Linked DNA regions of Homo sapiens: all the other regions are linked to region 3. Evidence: promoter capture Hi-C in human tissues and cell types (Jung and others, 2019). All regions are on one chromosome and are shown on one strand. Each heading gives the region's core, a stretch centred on a gene start or on the middle of the fragment in contact. The rest is flanking DNA. Distances are from core to core; before and after follow the strand shown. Region 1 has its middle 82 kb from the start of SIRLNT. Region 2 has its middle 170 kb from the start of SIRLNT. Region 3 holds the start of ZMAT4 (zinc finger matrin-type 4). Region 4 overlaps ZMAT4 (zinc finger matrin-type 4).

What was found. Contacts are between HindIII fragments. The study calls those that stand out against the background at their distance.
Region 1: a fragment that was not itself captured here is called in contact with the fragment with the promoter of ZMAT4 in region 3 in 2 of the 25 tissues and cell types used here (dorsolateral prefrontal cortex and heart left ventricle).
Region 2: a fragment that was not itself captured here is called in contact with the fragment with the promoter of ZMAT4 in region 3 in 2 of the 25 tissues and cell types used here (mesendoderm cells and thymus).
Region 4: a contact is called between a fragment that was not itself captured here and the fragment with the promoter of ZMAT4 in region 3, in 2 of the 25 tissues and cell types used here (dorsolateral prefrontal cortex and mesenchymal stem cells).

Annotation. Positions count from the first base shown.
Region 1 is chr8:40,421,989-40,428,145 of GRCh38, reverse strand. No RefSeq gene overlaps it. Among named protein-coding and RNA genes, the nearest start is that of SIRLNT, 82 kb to the right of the region's middle. The HindIII fragment of the contact is 4,372 bases long and covers 1,602-5,973 here.
Region 2 is chr8:40,508,137-40,514,237 of GRCh38, reverse strand. No RefSeq gene overlaps it. Among named protein-coding and RNA genes, the nearest start is that of SIRLNT, 170 kb to the right of the region's middle. The HindIII fragment of the contact is 3,002 bases long and covers 1,834-4,835 here.
Region 3 is chr8:40,896,316-40,902,706 of GRCh38, reverse strand. ZMAT4 (zinc finger matrin-type 4) reads left to right here and starts at 4,881. Exons shown (of 7, transcript NM_024645.3): 1 at 4,881-5,024. The HindIII fragment of the contact is 9,161 bases long and covers 1-6,391 here.
Region 4 is chr8:40,559,368-40,565,600 of GRCh38, reverse strand. All of the region lies in intron 6 of ZMAT4 (zinc finger matrin-type 4), which reads left to right. Among named protein-coding and RNA genes, the nearest start is that of SIRLNT, 220 kb to the right of the region's middle. The HindIII fragment of the contact is 4,700 bases long and covers 1-4,212 here.

The sequences.
Region 1 (6,157 bases), core at 2,538-5,037, 470 kb after region 3:
AGCTTGTGGAGTCATCAACATTTTTGTGCAGGCTGTAATGTAGAGTAAGTGATACAATCAAAAGAAAAGCCAAAGCCAATTAAAGATTTGGAAGGGACATTGGAGATGCTCTGGTCCAAACCCTGCATTTTATAGATGTGGCGATATGACTCTCCCAGGATTGGTTAATTCTTGAACTAAATCCGCTGGTTCTCAGTTCAGTCTCCTCATCCCTCCCAGAGCTCACAACTGAGGTACAGAACTGTGCAGTCAAACTTTGCAAACAAAGGCTCCAAGGATGTGCATTCATTCTACCATGAGGCACTGAACTGGGGAGCAGAGTTTCCCCAAGATCATAGCTCGGGAATAGAGATAGAGAGGAGGTGGGAAAATGGAGCATTAAGGTGAAAACGCTTTAATCAGTAAAAGCACAAAATCAGAATATCCCCTAATTTCACTTTAATGCATTTTTTATCTTCTCAAGTTAGAGAGAGAACTATGTTATGAGAGAGCTATGTACACTAGACATCAGATACCAAGTTCCAATCCCAGCTTTTTCTCACTTACCAGCTGCACAGCAGCACTGTAGAAAAAGCTTTGGGTATAGAGTCTGAGGAAGCTAGGGAGTCACTCTGCAGTAGCTCATAGATATATGCCAAATTTTCTAGTGGGTCTCACTATATCATGTGATAATATGTGTGTTTTTTTCTTTTTTTCCCTTCTATTCCTGTTTCTATGTCTAGTTTTTTTTCAACAAAAAAATGCATGACAATTATAGTTTGATCACATATTAGTGGCTATAAGCATCCGTGTTCTTATCCCTTCTGAGTGGGAATAATAGTATAAACTTGCAGAAATGTTAATATAATTAAAGGAGATAATAAAATGAGCTTAGAATGTAATAGTTGCTCAATAAACCTATTTACATTCCTCTGAGTAACCTCTCACGATTCATTTATTTTCAGTCTCTATTTCCTCATCAGAGAAAAGGAATAATGATAACAGCAAACCTCAAGGTAGTCAAAATCGTATGTGACAAAGTATGTCAAAATGTTACAGAAATGAAAGACATGCTATGGGATATAAATGCTGGATATAATTATATGAAAAAGCCAATACAATTATAATGTGATGCTATATAAATTGACATAAAACATGATGCCTGCTTCACAATAGGATACCACCATATGCTTATCGGAATGGCTACAATTTAAGAAAAAGTGGTAATACCAAATGCTGGAAAAGATGCAGAGAAACTAGATAATTTGTACATTGCTGATGGGAAAGCAGAACAGTACAGCCGCTCTGGAAAACAGTTTGGTAGTTTCGTATAAAAGTAAATATGCAATTACCATACAAATTAGTATTATGCTTTGAGGCATTAGTCCCAGAGAAACAAAAGCCTATGTTCACACAAAAACCTGTGCATAAATATTCATAGCAGCTTTACTCATCATAGTCCAATACTGGAAACAACCCACATGTCTTCAATGGGTGAATGGTTAAACAAACTGTAGACATCAGAACATGAAATACCACTCAGCAATCAATAGGGATGAATTATTGATACATACAACTTGGATGAGTTACTGGGAAATTATGCTGAGTTTTTAAAAGTCTCTCTTAAAAGATTATTGTGTTAGTCCATTCAAACTGCCATAACAAAATACCTTAGACTAGGTGATTTATAAATAACAGAGATTTATTTCTTATAGTTTTAGAGACTGGGAAGTCCAATATCAAGGCACCAGCTGATTTCATGTCGATTTCATGTCTGGCGGGTCCTTGTTTTCTGCTTCATAGATGGCACCTTCTTGCTGTATCCTCAGGTGGTGGAAGAGGCAAATAAGCTCCCTCAGGCCTCTTTTATAAGGAAACTAACTCCATTCATGAGGGCTCTGCCTTCATGACCCCATCACCTCCTGAAGACCCCATCTCTTAATACTGTTGCATTGGGAATTTGATTTCAACATATAAATTTGGGGAGGGGGACACAAATATTCAAACCACAGCAGTTCCATACTGTATAATCATATTTATGCAACATTCTTGAAATGACAATGATACAGAACTGGAGAATAGATTAGGGGTTGTGCAGGTTAGTGATGGGGGAGGGGATTGAGAGGGAGGTAGGCAAGGTTATAGAAGGGCAGCCTGAGGGATCTTTGTGGGGCTGGAACTGTTTCTTGAGTGTGGTGGTGGGTACGTGAATCTACATATGTGCTAAAATTGCATAGGACTATACACACACATACACACACACGCATGTAAATAAAACACGGAACATCAGAATAAAATCAGTAGATTGTAATGACCTCAATATCCTGATTCTGATATTGTACTTTAGTTTTCTAAGATGTTACCATGGGTAAAGGTAGGTAAAAGATACATGCAATCTCTCTGTATTCTTTGTTACAACTGAATGTGGAATAAAAATTATCTCCACTTGTGGAAGTTTAATTAAAAAGTGAGGCTTACGTTATTTGTTACATGAAAAAGCAGTCTACTTTTATAAAAACATGCATAGTGAAAGTTGGGAGAATGTACTCTTAGTCAGGGTTCAGTTGAACATAACAGAATCCATTCAACTATTTTCGGCACAGAGGGATTTGACACAGGAAATTAAGTGTTTGCAAAATCATTGAAAAGCTTAAGGATCAGACATTAGGCTGAGCTTCCAGTAGTGACTCCCTGAACAACACTGTAGGTCAGGCCATGAAGGAGCTGCCACAATCATCAGTCACAGCCCCAAGCTGTGCAGCCACCGCTAGCTCAAGCTGCACTTCTTCAACTAAGGTTGCACCAGCAACACAGGCGCTTTGTGCATGTCATGGGCTGAACACAACATGGGCCCTGTACTGCAGCCTTACCGATTAAACATCTATGCTGCTTGTCAGGGGGAACTGCAGATGCAGCACAAACACAAACTCCATCTCATTTCCACCGTCCAGACTTCACACTGTGCTTTGGCTTGGGGGCTGATGGATCATATGGGAAAGTTGAGGTTTGAGGGAGCCTGAGAAATGCACCCTTTACATGTCCAGCTTCTAAAGTGAAGTATAAGATGCTATGGGAATTTGAATGGAGTTTAGGGAGTCAATCTGCCACACCCACCACACATATGCACCAACATTTCTAGTGCTCTCTGATATATAATTTGTCATAATTTGTCATTTTTCTTCTTCTTTCTCTATGCCTGTTTTTTTTTTAATGTATGTCAATATTAATAAAAACAAAAACCAATTCCAGTTTGAAAAGTCAGACCAAACAAATAATCAATGACCAGTTTAGGGAGTGGAGGTGAAGCCACAGTAATTGGAACCTGATCATCTTTAAAGTATCTTTAAGGCCAGGTGCGGTGGCTCATGCCTGTAATCCCAGCACTTTGGGAGGCCAAGGCAGGATGATGGCTTGAGCCCAGGAGTTTGAGACCAGCCTGGGTAACACAGCAAGACACTGTCTCTACAAAATAATAATAATAATACTACAAAAATTTGCTGGGTATGGTGGTGTGTGTCTGTAGCCTTAGCTGCTCAGGAGGCTGAAGTAGGAGAATCACTTTAACTCAGGAGTATAGGGCTGCGGTGAGCTATGATTGCACCCACTGCATTCCAGCTTGGGCAACAGAGACAGACCTTGTCTCAAAGAAAAAAAAAAAGAGAGAGAAAGAAAGAAAATAAAAAGAAAGTAACTTTAAAGTCTGAGAGCTTATGTTTCTATGATAAATGGCCATCTCAGCCTAGAAAGCTTTAGGCTCAGGGTTCAAAATTGAAATGTCTGCAATAAGAAGTAATATAAATGAGAGAAATAGGCTGGGTAAGACAATATAGAGTGATGAAAACTGCAAACCTGTCCCGTTTGAAGTGGAAAGTCACTGTTTGGTGCCAGCTAATTATTGCCATGTAGAAATTCAGGCTCAGGTTTATCCAATCTTCTGATTTTTTTAAAAAAGGATTTTTATGAAAGATAGGATAATTTTAAATGTTGGTTTCAACACATTTAAATCTTGGCTTCTACTGATTGCAGCAGAAACAGCAGCTCCTTGGTGGCCTATTCTACAGCGTTGTTAGGGGAATCATTACTACACTACTGAAAGTTCAATTAAAATATTGTTGCTAACATTCTGACATCCAAACAGAACACCTCCTCAAGCTGGATTTTTCTAGGAAGCCACCAAGTATGCAAGCTCTGTGTTAAGCCCTTGCTACAGCTGAAGCTCTGTCTTTGAATTTCCAGTAGATACTTTTCTGAACAACAGTGATTCCAGGGAAGGATATCCAGTCAAGCCGATGGATGTAGCTACCATGATATGAACTTGGGGGATTTGGTGACTTCTCCCTAAGCACGCCTTGGAGCCAAGGTGGAGATGAGTTCAGAGGCTATTTGGAAGGACTTGCTTTGTCTCTGTCTCCTCCATGAACATCACATCAACTGACAAAGCACAGAGCATGAGGGGACTTTCATGCTTGAGACATCATTTAGCACCAAAGTAGCCCTCACGACTCCACCTTTCAATATATTCCTAAGAGGAAACAAAAAAGATAAAAATGGGCTGCAAGGAACGTTGGAATTGAATACATACAATAACTGTCATGACTTTTCTAACACTACCGAGAGCTAACATTTCTGCAATGTTTCCTGAGTGTGAAGAATTTTCCTAAGCACCTTGCATATATTAACTTGTTCAGTCCTCACAATAGCCTGGGAGGTAGATGAGTGATTATTTTTTCCATACTGAAGTTGAGGAAACAAAGGCACAGAGAGGTCAGATGATACACTGGATTCAGTCTATGCATCACTGTAGATCCAGGGCCCGTCTGGCCAGAGCCAGTCTAGCGATGTCCTTCATCATCCTCAGCATCATGGATCAGGGCTCCTGATGCTGTTGTTTCTGCTCCTATAGGTCAATGGCTCAGCCCTGCTGTTGCTTATAAACACAACCTGACAGTGTCAGCGAGGCACAGTGGCTCATGCCTGTAATCCCAGCACTTTGAGAGGCTGAGGCTAGAGGATCGTCTGAACCCAGGAGTTCAAGACTAGCCTGAGAAGCATGGCGAAGCCCCACCTCTACAAAAATAATAAAAGTTAGCCGGGCATGATGATGCACGCTTGCAGTCCCAGCTACTCGGGAAGCTGAGGTGGGAGGATCACCAGAGGCTGGGGAGGCTGCAGTGAGCTGTGATTGCACCACTGCACTTGAGCCTGGGCGACAGAGTGAGACCTTGTCTAAAAAAAAAAAAAAAAAAAACAAAAAAAACAAAAGCAAAAAAAACAAAAACCAGCCTACCAGGCTTACGGTATCCACCTTCCACATGAGCCACCTGTCTCTCAGCCCCTGCCTGGGGCTCCCTGTGGTCCGCAATGGCACTCACTCATTTCCCATGCATGGAAACACTAGAAGTTTAGGGAAATTAACTCACAGTAATGGTAAACTTTGATCAATGAAAAATATGAATCGGCAGTTGAACTCCTATTTCCTAAACTTAGGAAGTAGTTTCACGTCTTTGAAGATATTGAGAAATCAGCTTGTCGTGCAGCTGTGATTAGCCCAGTTCTGTACTTTCTTACAATTGTTCTCCCCTTTTTCTGCCTCACTTCCCCTTTCCTTTACTCATTTTCACTGGGATTGCACTCGCTAGTGAGGTGAGCACATAATCTCTGCCTTATGCTCTGTGTTCTAAGGAACTTGGATAACTAGATAACTCATCCAAGGTTGTGTAGCTAGTAAGTACCAGTGCCAGAAGAGTCCAGAAATCTATTCCCAGAGTCCGTGTGTTTTAATCACTCAATATACTACCTCTAAAGGAAGAAATAAAACCTTGGGTTACAAAATTAATGTCATCTTTAAAAATAACCACCCCCTATCTAGCAAGTGTACTGCTGGCATTTTCTGCCTTTCCTCACACTTAAATCTAATCATACTTCACTCCAGGCTGGGTGCTGGAAGTTTCCTATATAGACTACTAATTTTGTTTATTCTATATCTCCCAACTACTGGATGTTGGCTATTAGAGGGCAAAATCTACCTGACTGTACTGTGAGAAATTGCATGAAACATGTAATGTAAAAGCTACTAAATGATAGCCAAAGAGCTGTTTCATATAGTTTTGTTTCTGTTGTCAAATAATCTCAATTTCTCTCCAACAAATGCTTATTCTGTTCTTATTATGAAGCACAC
Region 2 (6,101 bases), core at 2,085-4,584, 390 kb after region 3:
ACTTCTTCTTGCTTACCTGCACATTATATCAGACTTTCTTTTTATGAAGTACAGCAGTTTGTACACACTGTAAAAATACTGAAGATCCTAGAAATGTAACAGGTGAGCTATTCCATTCACATTGTCTTTCAACCAACGTACTACCATGGGCTCACGGAATGTAGCCATTCCATTTCGCTGAGTCCTGCAAAAACTCCCACCCATCTCCTGAGCTCCATTTGGTCCTTTTCTTATTCATAAATTTTCCTGGTCATTGCTGCCATACTGCATGCTTTGCATGTTGCACAATTTTCTCTGACCTCCAGAATCATTGCAACAGTCCAATGGTTCATTTCCATAAGCACACGAAGTATCTGTCATGCCAAAAATATCCACTTTTAATTATTTTTTCTGAGTTAACTTTTTTTAATCCTAATAAAACATCCCTTTGTGTTGGTGTATTCCACACCTTCTCCTCTGGTATTTATTGGGCCTGCTGAGTTTTATGATATTTGTGAAACACTTCAATACTAAGTTCAAATGTAACAATTCAACTAACAGAACCAACAAAGATCATGCCTGGGCTACATTGTATGAGCAAAAGACTGCATATTTTGGTGGCAACCTCATCAGACGCTCTTTTTTCTTGTGTGTATCCCTACTTATCCCTCTGCAAATTACTATTTAAAAGTCAGGAAGCAGGAAAGTTTTAGTAGCTGAGTTGTACCCAGCAAAAAATTGGCCCTGAGCTATTTGTTAGCTGTTCAAAGAGTGTGCAAAGCTGTCTCACACTGCCCTGGCTGGGGCCAGGAGCCCACCAACTGGTACTAGGAGGTACCCAGAATGCTGCCAGTGCTTGGCTACTTGAGTATCCCTGGAATTGTTCTCATGAACAGAGCTGGGCCCTGTCCTGGAACCAGTGAGAAGGTAGGAGGTTAGAACAGCAATTCCCCTCCATCAACTCCCAGCCATTCCTCCTTCCCCACATAAACACTCTTCCTGTGGGCATATGCTGAGCTCTAGCTGCCTAACCCCGCCCTCCACCACACCATATCCTGGGTCTCCTGGGCATCCTGAGAATCTCTGTTACCATTCCACCATGGAATTTGGAGGAAGGGAGGGAATTCTCCCTAACAGCCATCTGAACGAAGGCCAGCTCTTAACTTTATTCCTGCCAATTCTTTTCTTTTTGACAGAATTTAAAGAATGACACCAGCTCAGCCCATGCTTTTTCTTATCTGCCATTTGCATTTCCAAAGCTTCACCTCTGTGCAGTCATCTAAGATCTAAGACCAGATGTCTTATTTCCTCATCTATAATTTAAGAATAATAATTCCTCTTTCAAAATACAGTTGTGGAACCATTCCTGGACAAGATGGCCAAATAGGAACAGCTCCAGTCTGCAGCTCCCAGTGAGATCAATGCAGAAGGTGGGTGATTTCTGCATTTCCAACTGAGGTACCTGGCTTATCTCATTGGGACTGGTTAGACAGTGGGTGCAGCCCATGGAGAACAAGCTGAAGCAGGGTGGGGCGTTGCCTCGCCCAGGAAGCACAAAGGGTCAGGGAACTCCATCCCCTAGCCAAGGGAAGCTGTGAAGGATTGTGCCATGAAGAATGGAGCACACTGGCCCAGACACTACACTTTTCCCACAGTCTTCACAGCCTGCAGACAAGGAGCTTCCCTCTGGTGCCTACGCCACCAGGGCCCTGGGTTTCAAAACTGGGCAGCCATTTGGGCAGACACTGAGCTAGCTGCAGGAGGTTTTTTTCATACCCCAGTGGCACCTGGAACACCAGTGAGACAGAACTGTTCACTCCCCTGGAAAGGAGGCTGAAGCCAGCGAGCCAAGTGGTCTAGCTCAGCAGATCCCATCCCCACAGAGCCCAGCAAGCTAAGATCCACTGACTTGAAATTCTCACTGCTAGCACAGCAGTCTGAAATCAACCTGGGAGGCTCCAGCTTGGTTGGGGGAGGAGAGTCTGCCATCACTGAGGCTTAAGTAGGCAGTTTTCCCCTCACAGTGTAAACAAAGCCACTAGGAAGTTCAGACTAGGCAGAGCCCACCACAGCTCCACAAAGCCTCTGTAGCCAGACTGCTTCTCTAGAGTCCTCCTCTCTGGGTAGGGCATCTCTGAAAGAAAGACAGCAGCCCCAGTCAGGGGCTTATAGATAAAACTCCCATCTCCCTGGGACAGAGCACCTGGGGAAAGGGGCGGCTGTAGCTGCAGCTTCAGCAGACTTAAATGTTCCTGCTTGCTGGCTCTGAAGAGAGCAGCAGATCTCCCAGCACAGCACTGGAGCTCTGCTAAGCGACAGACTGCCTCCTTAAGTGGGTCCCTGACCCCTGTGCCTCCTGACGGGAAGACACCTCCCAGCAGGGGTCAACAGACACGTCATAGAGGAGAACTCCAGCTGACATTTGGTGGGTGCCCCTCTGGGACAAAGCTTCCAGAGGAAGGAGCAGGCAGCAATCTTTTCTGTTCTGCTGCCTCCGCTGGTGATACCTAGGCAAACAGGGTCAGGAGTGGAACCCCAGCAAACTCCAGCAGACCTGCAGCAGAGGAGCCTGACTGTTAGAAGGAAAACTAACAAACAGAAAGCAATAGCATCAACATCAACAAAAAGGACGACCATGCAAAAACTCCATCCGAAGGTCACCAACGGCAGAGACCAAAGGAAGATAAATCCACGAAGATGAGGAAAAACCAGAGCAAAAAGGCTGAAAATTCATGCCAAAAACCAGAATACCTCTTCTCCTCCAAAAGATCACAACTCCTTGCCAGCAAGAGAACAAAACTGGATGAAGAATGAGTTGAACAAATGGACAGAAATAGGCTTCATAAGGTAGGTAATAACAAATTCCTTCAAGCTAAAGGAGCATGTTCTAAGACAATGCAAGAAAGCTAAGGACCTTGATAAAAGGTTAGAGGAATTGCTAACTAGAATAAACAGTTTAGTGAAGAACATAAGTGAACTGATGGAGCTGAAAAACACAGAACGAGACCTTCATGAAACATATGCAAGTAACAACAGCCAAATCAATCAAGTGGATGAAAGGATATCAGAGATTGCAGATCAACTCAATGAAATAAAACATGAAGACAAGATTAGAGAAAAAAGAATCTAAAGGAACAAACAAAGCCTCCAAGAAATATGGGACTGTGTGAAAAGACCATACCTACATTTGATTGGTGTACCTGAAAGTGACGGGGATAAAGGAATCAAGTTGGAAAACACATTTCAAGATATTATCCAGGAGAACTTCCCCAACCTAGCAAGACAGGCCAATATTCAAATTCAGGAAATACAGAGAACACCACAAAGATACTCCTAGAGAAGAGCAACCCCAAGACACATAATCATCAGATTCACCAAGGTTGAAATGAAGGAAAAACATGTTAAGGGCAGCCAGAGAGAAAGGTTGGGTTACCCACAAAGGGAAGCTCATCAGACTAACAGCGGATCTCTCTGCAGAAAACCTACAAGCCAGGGCTGGGTGTGGTGGCTCACACCTGTAATCTCAGCACTTTGGGAGGCGGAGGCAGGCAGATCACCAGGTCAGGAGATCGAGACCATCCTGGCTAATGTGGTGAAATCCTGTCTCTACTAAAAATGTAAAAAATTAGCTGGGTGTGGTGGCGGGCGCCTGTAGTCCCAGCTACTAGGAAGGCTGAGGAAGGAGAATGGCGTGAACCTGGGAGGCAGAGTTTGCAGTGAGCCGAGATCACGCCACTGCACTCCAGCCTGGACGACAGAGCGGGACTCCACCTCAAAAAAATAAATAAATAAAAGAAGAAAGCCTACAAGCCAGAAGAAAGTGGGGACCAATATTCAACATTCTTAAAGAAAAGAATTTTCAAGCCAGAATTTCATTTCCAGCCAAACTAAGCTTCATAAGGGAAGGAGAAATAAAATCCTTCAAAGACAAGCAAATGCTAAGGGATTTTGTCACCACCAGGCCTGCCTTACAAGAGCTCCTGAAGGAAGCACTAAATATGGAAAGGAAAAAATGGTACCAGCCACTGCAAAAACAAAGCAAAATGTAAAGACCATTGACACTATGAAGAAACTGCATCAACTAATGGGCAAAATAACCAGCTAGCATCATAATGACAGGATCAAATTCACACATAACAGTATTAACCTTAAATGTAAATGGGCTAAATGCCCCCAATTAAAAGGCACAGACTGGCAAATTGGATAAAGAGTCAAGACCCATCAGTGTGCTGTATTCAGGAAATTCATCTCACATGCAAAGACACACATATTCAGGAAAGTCATCTCACATGCAAAGACACACATAGGCTCTAAATAAAGGGATGGAGGAAGATTTACCAAGCAAATGGAAAGCAAAAATAAAAAAGCAGGGGTTGTAATCCTAGTCTCTGTTAAAACAGACGTTAAACCAACAAAGATCTAACAAGACAAAGAAGGGCATTACATAATGGTAAAGGGATCAATGCAACAAGAAGAGCTAACTATCCCAAATATATATGCACCCAACACAGGAGCACCCAGATACATAAAGCAAGTTCTTATAGACCTACAAAGAGATTTAGACTCCCACACAATAATAGTGGGAGACTTTAATATCCCACTGTCAATATTGGACAGATCAATGAGACAGAAAATTAACAAGGATATCCAGTAATTGAACTCAGCTCTGGACCAAGCAGACCTAATAGACATCTACAGAACTCTCCACTCCAAATCAACAGAATATACATTCTTCTCAGCACCACATAGCACTTATTCTAAGATCGACCACATAATTGAAAGTAAAACACTCTTCATCAAATGCAAAAGAATGGAAATCATAACAAACTGTCTCTCAGACCACAGTGCAATCAAATTAGAACTCAGGATTAAGAAACTCACTCAAAACCACACAACTACATGGAAACTGAACAACCTGCTCCTGAATGACTACTGGGTAAAAAAATGAAATTAAGGCAGAAATAAATAAGTTCTTTGAAGCCAATGAGAACAAAGACACAACCAGAATCTCTGGGACACAGCTAAAGCAGTGTTTAGAGGGAAATTTATAGCACTAAATGCCCACAAGAGAAAGTGGGAAAGATCTAAAATCAACACCCTAACATCACAATTAAAAGAACTAGAGAAGCAAGAGCAAACAAATTCAAAAGCTAGCAGAAGATAAGAAATAACTAGGATCAAGCAGAACTGAAGGAGATAGAGACATGAAAAACCACTTCAAAAAATCAATGACTCCAGGAGCTGGTTTTTTGAAACTGTTAATAAAATAGATAGACCACTAGCCAGACAAACAAAGAAGAAAAGAGAGAAGAATCAAATAGACACAATAAAAAATGATAAAGGTGAGATCACCACTGATCCCACAGAAATACAAACTACCATCAGAGAATATTATAAACACCTCTATGCAAATAAACTAGAAAATCTAGAAGAAATGAATAAATTCCTGGAAACATACACCCTCCCAAGACTAAATCAGGAAGAAGTCTAATCCCTGAATAGACCAAAAACAAGTTCTGAAATTGACGCAGTAATTAATAGTCTACCAACCAAGAAAAGCCCAGGACCAGAAGGATTCACAGCTGAATTCTACCAGAGGTAAAAAGAGGAGGTGGTACCATTCCTTCTTAAACGATTCCAAAAGATAGAAAAAGAGGGACTCCTCCATAACTCATTTTATGAGGTCGGCATCATCCTGATACCAAACCTGGCAGAAACACAACAAAAAAAGAAAATTTCAGGCCAATATCCCTGATGAACATTGATATGAAAATCCTCAATGAAATACTGGCAAACTGAATCCAGCAGCACATTAAAAAGCTTATCCACCATGATCAAGTCAGCTTCATTCCTGGGATGCAAGACTGGTTCAACATACACAAATCAATAAATGTAATCCATCACATAAACAGAACCAATGGCAAAAACCACATGATTATCTCAATAGATGCAGAAAAGGCCTTTGATAGAATTCAACACCCCTTCATGCGAAAAACACTCAGTAAACTAGGTGTTGATGGAACATATCTCAAAATAATAAGAGCTATTTATGACAAACCCATGGCCAATATCATGCTGAATGGGCAAACCTGGAAGCATTGTGTTTGAAAACCGGCACAAGA
Region 3 (6,391 bases), core at 3,632-6,131:
ATCACAAGAATATTGACCCATGCCAAGACATTCCTGCTATTGTCACTAGGCTTAACATCAAGGGCAGGACATCTGCGTCTTCTTTTGTAGGTTTATTTGCCATCATTCTCTCAACAGCCTTAGAAACAATGATCACTCTGCTTTATAAATGAGGAAATGGTGTGTGGCAGGTGTTGTAAACACATGTTCAATGGGTTCTTTCAAGAAAGCAGCTATGTTAGAACGTGGGTCCTGTCTGGCAGGGGTCCAACAGCTGTCTCCATGTGTGCAGACCTTTATTCTAGAAGGGTGCTTCACACTACACATGGCCTGCCAGCCTCACAGAAGGCAAGCTGACCTTCTTAATTCAGCTCCCCTACCCCTGTCAATTGTTGCATCGCTGGATAATATTTCATGACATCTTTCAGCTGCATATTTCTTATGAAGAATTTAACTGAAGTAAAACAGAATTTAGGTGGGCAATCTAGCTTTGCAAGTCTCTCTCTACCTCTCCATCTGTCCCTGTCTCTGTCTTCCTCTTTCTCTTTTTCAGATTATTTACAACTCTGGCTCACTAATAAATGTGATTGTGATTTAAAGAAACAAAATCACCTGCTTTATTCATCAGGGTATGTTAAATAATAAAATATCCTTACTGTTTTCAAACCTCATGAAGCCTGTATATTCTAATACCAACTTTCTAAAGACTCATTAATAATTAATGAAATCATTAAGAATGGTTCATGTTGACTGACACCCTCCTGGCAGCCACAGTCTCCTCTTACGCTTTGTCAAAATGTCACTGGCTCCACAGGTTTGATTTTCATGGTGGGAGTGGGGGTGTGGGTGGAGGGGGAGGGAGTTTGATTTCACAACAGCTATCAGCTAGAACAGAAAGCTATGAAAATGTTCTTCCAAGTTTCTCTACTTAGGAGACTGTGCTGGGAGAAGTTTTCTGAACAACCTTTCATTCTTCCAATGCTAGGTTCAAGAAATCCTGCTAATATTATGTTTTCATTGAAATGGTATTGTAGGGCTGAAGTCAATAAGCAAAGATGTAGTGTTGAAAGTCACCCCCTTTGTTTTCCTCTTGTTTTCACACATTTTCCTCTTTCTTGGCATTGCCTAGATTTATTCTCCTCTTCTCCCTTTTAGAAACAGAATTTGGCATAAATAAATGATAACTGAGAAAATGGCATACACGGACAAGTAAATGCAAGATTTCTCCAGCCTCCCACGGTAGGTCATGGTCATTTGTTGTAGCAAGTGGTTACCCACAAGAATGATGGAGGTTCCGGCGGCTGCTGTCTAATTTGTGTTTTAATAAAGAAACCCACATTCTTTCCCTAATTACTCAAAATGGAACAGGAACCCCCAAAAGTCTTTCCCACCATTAATGTCCTGAAACTGTTAAATCAAAATGGACTGCTTTGCCGAGTATGGCCCACAACATGGAATTTGGTACATTTCATACCCCAGTGAATTTAAATTGTATGGAGCTGATATTTAATACAAATGCAAGTACCAGTGGAATCTGCATATTTAATATTCATTCTCTAACTCTCAGAATTAAGCAGTTGATCTATGGGACACAAAGGGAGAATCCTTCTCTCAAAGAGGATATTTTATGACCAGGCAGTTTAAAAGACACTGACATAAACAACTGTTTGAGGCTTGCTCTCTTTCTTTCTCTCTCTCTCATCTTCAAAAGGCAAAAAGTACATGTAAGGACATGCTGTTTTAGACAAAGCATTTTAGAAAATCACTTGAAATGTTTTCCCTTTCCTTCAGGGACAACTAAACCTTTGATAGATACTCAAGAGAGTTCTTATAATTTAGTTTATTTCTCTTATTTTCTTAAGGGGGGTGGAAAAAGAGATAGTATGAAGGCACAAAGCTGAAGCCTACTTTCACTCGAAAGTAAAAATCATACTGCTTAAATAATAAAAGTGTTATTTATGGTTTTTACACCATGACTGAACACACCAGATTTTCTAGGACAGTGTCAATTTCAAATGTATAGCTAAGTTTAGTTTCATTATTGTGCCTTTGTGTGATTTCACCTAGACAAAGGAATGAAATAGAAAACAAATATTTTGCTACATCCCTTGCCCTAGTTTTGAATTCCTAATATACGGTCACTGTCTCCTACTCATGCTGATATTTGGAAAGCCATTATGGAAAGGACTTCATTTTTTGAGGTCATGCCTCACAAGTAAAATGTGCATCCCACATCCTTTCATTTCCTTCAAATGCTTGAGGGAGGAGGAAGGTACTGGGTGAAGACCTGCCTCATTTTCCAGAGAGAACACAGAGAGCTTCGAGTGACTCTGGAGCTGCCGCATTTCACAGGCATTTCACAGTGGTTAGTCCTGAATTTTTAGCTCTTGGACTCCAGAGTGGGCCCCCTCCACACTCTGCTCTGCTGGAAGAGTAGTTGCAGTGGAATGAGGGTCGCATGAGGCTTAGGGCTGTGCACCCTGGATGCTTTGAATTGGGTTTTAGTAGTCAGCCCACTTATTGAGTGCTAGGTGCTATCTGTGGAGTGATAAAAATATGCATGATACCATCTCTGTCTTTACAGGGCTTGAAATGTATTTAGGGAAGCCAGGCATGTATGCATGAAATAGAAAGTCACCATACAAGGCAGTGGGGCACCTGCCATTTGCTGCAGAGGACGCAGCTGAAGATAAGGACTACAGCCATTCAAGGCCCCAGGGGAGGCCAGGGCAGGACTGGGACCAGAGCCTCACCAAAGACATGGAGATCCTAGGATAAGAAGGCTGAAGGGTTAGTTTCTGGATCATCTGAAATTTGATATTTTAAAAGCTTTCTTTAAAAGACGCTTTTATAATTCTCTCTTAAAAAATTCAGCCCATTTTGTCCTTTGCCATTTTTGAATTGGGTTATAGGTCTTGTACTTATTGATTTATAAAAGCTCTTTCATTTTAGAAACATTAATAATAAATATTTTACCTAGTTAAGAAAATTTAGCTGCCAAGTGATGTCTTTTCCATATGGTGACAAATACATTAAGGAGAGGGGAAGGTCAAAATTTGTGCTTTATGATTTCTTCTTAATTTTTAAAAATTTTTAATTTTATGGGAACATAGTGGGTGTATATATTTATGGGGTACACGAGATATTTTGATACAGGCATGCAATGTGTAATAATCACATTAGGGTAAATGGGGTATCTGGCACCTCAAGCATTTAGCATTTCCTTTTGTTACAAACAATCCAATTGTACTCTTTCAGTTATTTTAAAATGTACAATATGTTTTGCTGACTGTAATAACCCTGTTGTGCTGTCAAATACCAGATCCTATTCATTCTATCTAACTCTATTTTTGTACCTAGTAACCATTCCACCCCCGCCCCTTCCTAGCCTCTGGTAACCATCATTCTATTCTCTCTGTCCATGAGTTCAATTGTTTTAATTTTTAGCTCTCACAAATGAATGAAAACATGTGAAGTTTGTCTTTCCATGCCTGTTTTATTTCATTTAACAGAATGTCCTCCAGTTCCATCCATGGTGTTGTAAATGACAGGATCTCATTCCTTTTTATGGCTGAATAGTACTCCACTACGCATATGTACCACATTTTCTTCATCTAATTTATCTGTTGATGGACACTTACATTGCTTCCAGATCTTGTCTATTGTGAACAGAGCTGCAATAAACATGGCAGTGCAGGAATCTCTTCAAGATACTGATTTCTTTTTTGGGGGTATATACCTAGCAGTGGGATTGCTGGATCAGATGGTAGCTCTATATTTAGTTTTCTGACAAACCCCAATACTGTTCTCCATAGTGGCTGCATTAATTCACATTCTCACCAGCAATGTAGGAGGGTTCATTCTCTTTTCTTCACATCCTTGCCAGCATTTGTTATTGCCTGTCTTTTGGATAAAAGCCATTTTAACTAGGGTGAGACTTTATGATTTCTTGGTGAACAAGGAAAAGTGTTTAAGCTGTCCCCACCCTTTGATGGGTATGTTCTCTCTTCACGTGCGTAGGTTGTTGATGAAAGTCTAAGCGATTAATTTAAGCCATGTCAGAATAAACCAAAGTGAGGGTCCCAGCAGAATCATTCACTCTAGAATGCTCGGCTTTCTGGACCTCCCAGTGAGAACAGTGAGAAACTCCAGAGTTTTATGGATTTTAAGAATAGCTCTTCTGAGACTCTTTGGACAGGGTGCAAAGGAAAATTGTCTCCTCAGGTTGGGGGATGAGGGGGACTGTGAGATAAAGTACTGATAGATAAACTCCAGGTATGCACCTACTATGCTCCCCAAGCAATCTGCCATGTCCTTCACATGTCCTCCAGGGTGGCCCTGTGAAAAGCATTACTCCATCCCTTCAGCCCTCAACCTTGCTCGGCTTTCTAGAGTCTGTCTCATGCCGGCAGACACCCCATAGTTATTATTCTCTCTGCCCTCAGCAACATTTACCAGTTAGGGGGAAAATAAAGCCAGAAAATTGTTGCTATGGGCTCTGTTTTGTGGAAGTTAAAATGCTAGAGCAAGAATCTGATTGCTTGATAGCTCCATCTCTCTCTCTCTCTCCCTCCTACCCTCCTACCCCCCCACAGTTTCTCCTTCTTTTCCTCTCCCCTCCACCTCCTTCCCCCACCCCGCTCCCCCACATTTTCCTACTCCTCTCCCCTCTCTCCACTGGCCTCCCGGTCCTGCCCCCACATTGGGCTGGAGGAGAGCCTTACAGGTTGTCAATGAAACATGGAATTATTTCCTTTGATGGCTTAGATAATAGTAGGAGCCAAAGCAATGAGTGAGGTCGGCTGAAACCAATGCAGTCCTGCCCGGGACTGGAGAGCCAATCGCAAGAGCAGAGGGCGGGGCGTCGGAGCCAGCAGATAATTGCTAAGTGCATCGCTAGCACAGTTGGTCCGAGCTGCCGAAAGGTCTGGTCGCAGAGACAGGAACGTGTAATCCTCAGCGTGCTCCAGCCCACAGCTTCGCTCTACTGCTCGGCAGGGCAGCTGGCCTCTGGGCACCGGCGGCCCCTCTGCCTCGCGGAAAAGGTACCTCTGCCTGCGTCCCGGGGGTGCAGCGCCTGCGTCTCCATTGCCAGTGGCTTTGCAGTTTAGCCTAGGTGGAGGGATTGCAGAAAGAAAAGTTTCTGGGAGGGAATGTGATAAAGGTGGGAAATCACTGTCTTTTGTTGGGAGGAAAACAAGCGGACAATTTGGGAAACTTCTGCGCTGGCAAGAAATGGGCTTGTTTACTACTCCTAATTAGCTGCGCTCAGGTCTGTCTAAATAGGTCTGGTCTCAGGCTAGGGTGTCTGCAGGGCTGGGGTGGAGATTCGGGTGTGCTGGGTGAAAGAAGTTGGATCCCAGGGTGTGCTGTTTCCTGGTGCACCCATCATGGATAGGCTGGTTCCGAGAGAAACGTGATTGGTTGTTTGTGTTTTCCGCTATAGGGTCTGTCCCCTTCGTATTACCTTGATCTGCCTTCCCCAAACTATTGTGACCTTCAACTGGAGTCCTTCCTCAAACTTCTGCCTCCTTCCTGCCTGTCTCAGTTCATTTTATTTGGTGGAAGGAGACATTCCCCGGGGTGGGTGGGTGAGGATGGTCTATTCTGTTTGACCTGGTGGGCACCTACGTGACAACTTGGTGACACGCCAGCAAAACAGTTCTCAGAGGAGAGGAAATCACATAATTAATTAGCTCCCGAAAACTCTGGAAGACTTTCCAGGCTTGGGGTATCCTGAAAAAAAAAAAAAAAGAAAAAGCCAAAAAACGGGATAGAGAGTTCGGTTTGGTACCATGTGAAGCTTACACCCTTGTCCCCAGAAGGGGTGCCTGGCCCGGAGCATCCCCGCAGCTCTGGGAGGTGGAGGCTGGTGGAGGGGGTGGCTCCGTGTAGGTGCGCAGGTTGTTTTGGTGCACAGGTGCATTTGTGGCAGAGGTGGTGCTGAAGTCACCATCCACACTGCTTCTGCTAACTGCTCTTGAAGTAAAACAGCTCACCCCGGCAGGCAGCTGGTTCAGCCCAGAAGCACCCTTGAGCATTCTAAATCGCGAGACCTCAGGGGCCTCTCTTGCTCTGAGACCCTTGGGAAACTCCTTTCTCCCCCTGCCTCCTCCGCCTTTGGCTTCTGCTAAAGGGAGATATTAGGTAGGTGAGTCACTAGGAAGCAGGGACCCATGGGGAAGCAGGCGATGTGCTTGGTCTCGAACTTTCTTCCTCTTCTGCGAAGGCAGCTTCTGCTTGTGTGCCCACCGCACTTCACCAGTTGCGCTGCCTACCTGCGGGATACTCTGAAGCTGATAGTCTGGGGGTGATCTTCCAAGTCCTAGGGGCATTGAAGAGTTTAGATGATTTTCATCCCTCTGATTTCCGTTAAACCCGCAGCTGGGGAGTTCGATTCCCAGTCCTGACA
Region 4 (6,233 bases), core at 613-3,112, 330 kb after region 3:
TTCGAGACCAGCCTGGCCAACATGGTGAAATCCCATCTGTACTAAAAATACAAAAAATTAGCTGGGCGTGGTGGCGGATGTCTGTAACCCCAGTTACTCATGAGCCTTAGGCAGGAGAATTGCTTGAATCTGGGAGGCGGGGGTTGCAGTGATCGCCCCACTGCACTCCAGCCAGGGCAACAAGAACAAAACTTCATCTCAAAAAAAAAAAAAAAAAAAAAAAGATGGTGGCACCAAACCAGCACTTGCTGTTGTGTTGAATGAGTTGATATAGAAGCTTTGACTTCTAAGGACTTACCCAAGGAAATTACTTTTGTCACTTAGAAACTCATATTTTCTGGGCATTCTCTGAAAAGCCCTCATCACTTATATATGAGGATTTGAATTTTGTAACACCTGATAGAATATTTCATTGCTATTAAGTAAGGGAAGAAACCAGGGTTTAAAACTTATGTTAAGAGCAAATGACATTTGTGATCAAAGAATGATGATTAGAGACATCAATCTGTCCAATCTCTGTTGAAAATTACTTTGATTATTCTTTCTCCCTAATAACACTTGCTCTAGTGTCATTTAAGGAATTGGTAGCAAATGAGCAGCTCCAATAAGACAGTGTACAGATAAAAGAGTAAGACTGGATGTCAGATTTTGTTAACAAGAACTGCTTTAATGTTCTAAAGCAGATTTTTTACTATCCGTGCAGGTAATTTTTCTTTTAACCTTGAAGTAAGATTATTCCTGTGTCTTCTGATTAAAATATCTCATCCTGTGCCCACAATGGATGCTCAACAATTAATGGTCTTTCTTTTCTCAACTGTTTAATTAGGGTTGAAGCCAACACATAATTTGAATGACTAAAATCAATGAATATCATGAATATCATTCCAAAATGTACTCTACTAATGTGAGTAATTTCTCCATTCCCATGAGACAGTGGAACAGGCTGCAACAGTGGCCCTGCCTTATGATGTGATTTCAATAAATTGCTTCCTTTTCTCAAAGTGATATGTTCTCCCCTATACACACCTGCTAGGTAACTGTCAACATTTTTTCCACAGAGGAAAACTTTACTTTTGTCTACTTTGCAGGCAGGGATAATTGCACAGTGAGATGTGCAAATGACAAATACTAAAATCTTATCTGTGAGTTTAGAGGGGGGTGGCCCGAGACTGAAATATAGAGTGTCATTGACAGGGGGAGAGAAGGCAGAAAGAGGAAGCTGGCATCAGCAATGAAAATCTTGGCCTTTTAGGGTCCAGGGTTGGGCAATCCTGTAGAAATAACACCTGCTTCAATATACTCTCGACTTATAAAAAGAGAAGTGATCAATACAAAACTCAGTGAGTTAAATATTGTCTCCTACATGAACACATTCCTGGACTCCCTTACCATGGTAAGTTTGTCCATGAGGATTTCTTTGCGTTCTCCAGCTTAGTGTTCATAAAGCAAATATTTCAAGTATTCTGGAACTACTTGACCTCATTCACGTATTTTCTCTTTTTGGAGGACAGACCAAAAATAAGTAATTTCATGATCATATTTATTCAGAAAAGGCTGGTGGAGATTAGATGTGTGGTCTCTGACAATCCGAGGGAGCCTGGGATGAGAAAGTGAAAGGACATCCCTTTCCTCAGCCACTGGGTGGAAACTCATTGGTTTCCCCTGTAGGAGACCTGCCATGGGGAGCAAGGGTAGGGGCTGGAGGAAACTAAGAGGCCCTCCTGCTCCCTCACAGCCTACCAGCATCACCCCAGTTTCTGGACTAGTTTTCAGAGTCAAGGAACAGCTGCCTTTAAGGACAGAGCCACTGTGGTCAAATAAATCATATCCTTTACCCTCTGTCACAAAATTCATGGGTCTAAAAAGAGAGTTGGAGGTGGAGAGAGATACCTTATCAAGTCAAGCAGAATCATGCATGTGGAATAATTTCATAAGATATCATTGTAATTCAAATTTTAAAGTCTAGTTCAGAACATTTCATGTTCTTATCTGTTTTTTCATTTCAAAATTGTTTCTTCTACTAGTAGTGCTCAAAGAAGATGAATTGCATCTGTTACCTTTGGATTTAGACAGCAGATATATTTATGGTTTCCTAGCATGTTCCACTTTTGCTAGAGACCTAATACTTGAGAGAGATTCAGTTCTGCTCTGTGTATTTACTCTGTGTCTAGCTAAGTGTCAGATACCGCAAGGATATAGCACCAGCAAACAGTGTGGTTCCTGCCTGCAATAAACCTATTGTTTAACTGAGGAGACCAAATTAATAGACGAAAATAATCAAAGAACATTTAAATGCTAATATATTTGAGACTGACTTTATATACCATTTAAGGACTTGAGAGAAGGGAGAGATGATGCAGACATGAGTAATGAGAGAAAGCTGCCTGGATGAGATGAACCTGGGCTGGGGAATGAGAATGATTTCAGTTTGAGGTGGAATGAGTTTGAGGGGCCTAAGAACATTCAGATGAAGATGCCGGTGGGCATTGAGGTTTATGGCTCTGGAGTTCAAGAAACAAATGAGGGCTGAAGATTCAGATTCAGGATGCTTAGGGTCACAGGAGCTGGTTGAAGTGTCTGATATGGGAGTAGATGAGTTCACTCAAGGTGAGTGTGTACAGTAAGAGGAACTTGAGGAATAAACACACATATGTTTACACTGCACACATGTGTGCACACACACGTCGTGACAAAGGAAGAGAAGTCAACACTTTTTCTCATAATGATATATTTTGTATTTCTTTTCTAAGTAGGAGAACAGGACAGATTAGTGCTTCAGAAGTCAAGGGAGAAAAAAACATTTCAAGAAGGAAGGTGTAGAACAAACTGATTAAATGCCAGAAAGAGTCAAGTAGAAAGAGGATTGACAGATGGCTTGTCAATCAGGAGGGGTTGTCATTGTTTGCCTGGGGAGTTTTGTAGAAGTTTCTAGACCATGATTACCACAATGGCTGGGGTAGAAAGAAAGAGGGGGAGTTCCTTACCAGTGTGCCCCTGTATGAGGGAGAGTGCCCCAGCAGCCCCATTGATGACAGCACCCAGGAGGATGGAGGGTGATGTGTAGCTGTTTGCTATGCATAGGGGAAGGGGTTTGCATAAGAACTCAAATTATAACAGCAGAACCCTCTTTTAAAATAAGTAGCAGGTGGAATTTCATAAAAGTAGTCTTTTTTGGAATTAGACATGTTGGGTCAAAAGTGCTACCCAGTGAACTTCCTCCCTGGCCCCTGCTGATCCCTAGAACTCTGAGGAACCACTGATAATCATTGATGATGGGATTTCTGAGAGGATGGCCTAAGGTGCCTACCTGTCTTCAGCTTAGGAGATGGGAGAAATTCTGACAGAATCTGGCCGGGAGTGAGGGAGTTAAGTTTTAGACACAGTGCTTTTGATGGAATGGTGTTTTGCCTGAGCAGGAATGTCCTACAGGTTCTTGGAAAGCAGACCTGATATGAAGACTTGAACCAGACTTTGAATGGACATTTTGAAGTCAGCTAAATGGGTACAAGTTAAAGCCAGGGAGAAGACGTATCGTCCAAAGTAGAGAAAGGTGCAGAGAGAAAGAACCGTGCCCTAGGCATTGCACCTGACTGACTTCAGTCAGAGAAGCAAGACCACTAGGAGGTGTGTGTCTGTCTCTCCCTCTCTTTTTCTCTCTTACACACAGACATACACTCACACATGGATTTATAACAGGGATTAGACCTTACCAAGGGTGTCCAATCTTTTAGCTTCCCTGGGCCATATTGGAAGAAGAAAAATTGTCTTGGGCCATACATAAAATACACGAACACTAATGATAGCTGATGAGCTAAAAAAATTGCAAAAAACTCTCATAATGTTTTGAGAAAGTTTACGAATTTGTATTGGGCCACATTCAAAGCCATCCTGAGCCGCATGCAGCCTGTGGGCTGGGGGTTGAACAAGCTTGCACTGAGCCTTTGTGAGAGCTGGTTCAGCACCCTCTCTAATGCTGGTGCTTGGAGCCTGGAAGACAGACTGTTGGAGGAGAGATTTTGGGTGGGGAAGAGAAAGTGCTACTCAGACCCTGAGCACCAGCTGGGACCTCTAAGGACAGACTGAAACCCGAGTTAGTTCTCTCCACCTTCAACCTCAATAAAGTGGTAGTTCTGCAGGAGAACCTGGTGCTTACATGTGGAAGCTGTGAGCCCTGACCTTCTGAGAGTGAAAACCAGAAACATATAGCTAAGGGAATTATAAGAAACGCTGTGCAGGCTGGCCATGTTAGTACACTGTAAAACCACCAGAGTACCCTCTAAAGCTGCCAAGTAACACTACACAGCAGGATAGTTAAATGTCAAATGAAAGACCACAGCATTAAAAGTGCTGAGTTTTCTTGTCCTTCTTTGAAAAAAAAAATTAAAGATATAGTAACTTAAGATGTTTCCATTTTTGTCAGAAAAATGAGCTTATTTTATTAACAAATGACACTGAATCTCTTTGCACAGAAGTCTCTTTGCACAGTACACAGAAAAGCTTATAAATCAAAGACGATCTTTTCTTTAAACAGAACTGTATGATTTTAATGAAAATATTCTAGAATCATATGTGTAGTGCCAACATAGAAAATATGGAGAGGTAAATCTCTACTAAGTAAAAGGGTTTTTTGGGGACTAATATACAAGAAATAGGATTGCAATGCGAGACATACATAAAGACCAGGGTGGCCTCCTGCATGTCCAGAGAACAGAGGAAAAGGTTAGGGTTTAATTGGGGAAAGAGTAGATTATACAGGTTATTTTGAAAGTTCATTGGCTGGCGATGTCTTTCAGGATCTGGCAAGCTCTGATGAGTGACAGTGGGGGCATTTCTAGGTAAAACTTGTAGTCTCGAAGTCATAGCAGCTGTTTCTTTGGATTGAGTTTGTGAAATAGTGTGTCAGGCAAGTGTTTTTGCATAAGTGGCTGGCTGTCCTTGTGATCATTCATATTATCAGGCAAATCTATTAGGACAGCCCTCCCACCATGATCTTCTCTGTCTTTATTTTGCCGGAGTTTGACAAGTGACACAAGACACAAGTGACTCCATTTTGAATCTCAAAACTTTCACAGTAAATGTTTAATATATATCTAGGATGACTTGTACCCAGGAGGCTAAAGCATTGAAATATCACCTGGAGAATTCATAGCTTCATCTGCATTCTGAGATTACTTTGAGGGGAAAGATATGATTATTTGTTTTCCAAGAAAAAGCATTGATGAATAAAATGAAAAAATATATTTCTGCTGGTACTGTGGCATAGGAATTTACTACAGAGCTTTAATGGAAAATAGACTGTCTATAATTGGCGGTGTTATTATTTACATAATTTGTTCAGGACAATGAGTTAAGATAAAATGTACAATTTCCCTTGGTCAAATTTTATATATATATATATATATAAAGTTTGACAAGATTATGGAAGATAATTCAAAAGGAAATCACTTGGCACTGTGTGACTAGCTTGAGCTAGAAGTGTATTAGAGGCACAGGTATTGACAGTGGCAGGAAGCCATGGACAAACTGTCATTAGGACAGGAATTAGTGGGAGAGTGGAACAGACCTCAGGGAGCAAAAATGCACAAAAATTACACCTGACATGGAGTCTTTGCCCAGCCCCAGTATCTCCTCTGCGGTTTCTGCCTGAGGAAGATTATTGCATAAGTTTGATCCCAAAGGGGCCATAGGGATTATTTCTGGGTCATCTATTTTTTTCTATTAACATACTCAGGAAAAGCTCTAATCTAATTTCACAAACGTGTGTTTGTATTTGTGTGTACTTATGTGGTTGTGTATATCTGTGTGTTTCTGTAATTATGTGTATTCGCATGTGTGTGTGTTTTTGTGTTTGTTTGTGTGGTTGTGTGTATTTGTGTGTGTGTGCCTTCAGTTCTATATCTACAACTCTGCCCTATCCACTGAGTCAACTGAAAAATTATATCATTTATAAATTTTGAAGGGAGACTTTATTTTTTATAAAGGGTTACAACCTACAAGATGGGCATTCTGACAGGTTGGGAAGCATTGCCTCTAGCAGAGGCCAAAAAGCAGGCAGTTCACAGGAGGGGAGGGAGGCACAAGGATTTGTGCTAAACAAGTTGGCCAAGTACACATATTTAACAGGTTATAGGAGGAGGTATGAATATTCATGAAGGGGTTAGGTTATGTTAGGAGGAGGAATGCATATTCATGAAGGGGTTCAGTATGATGCATGCATACTGAACAAACATGCA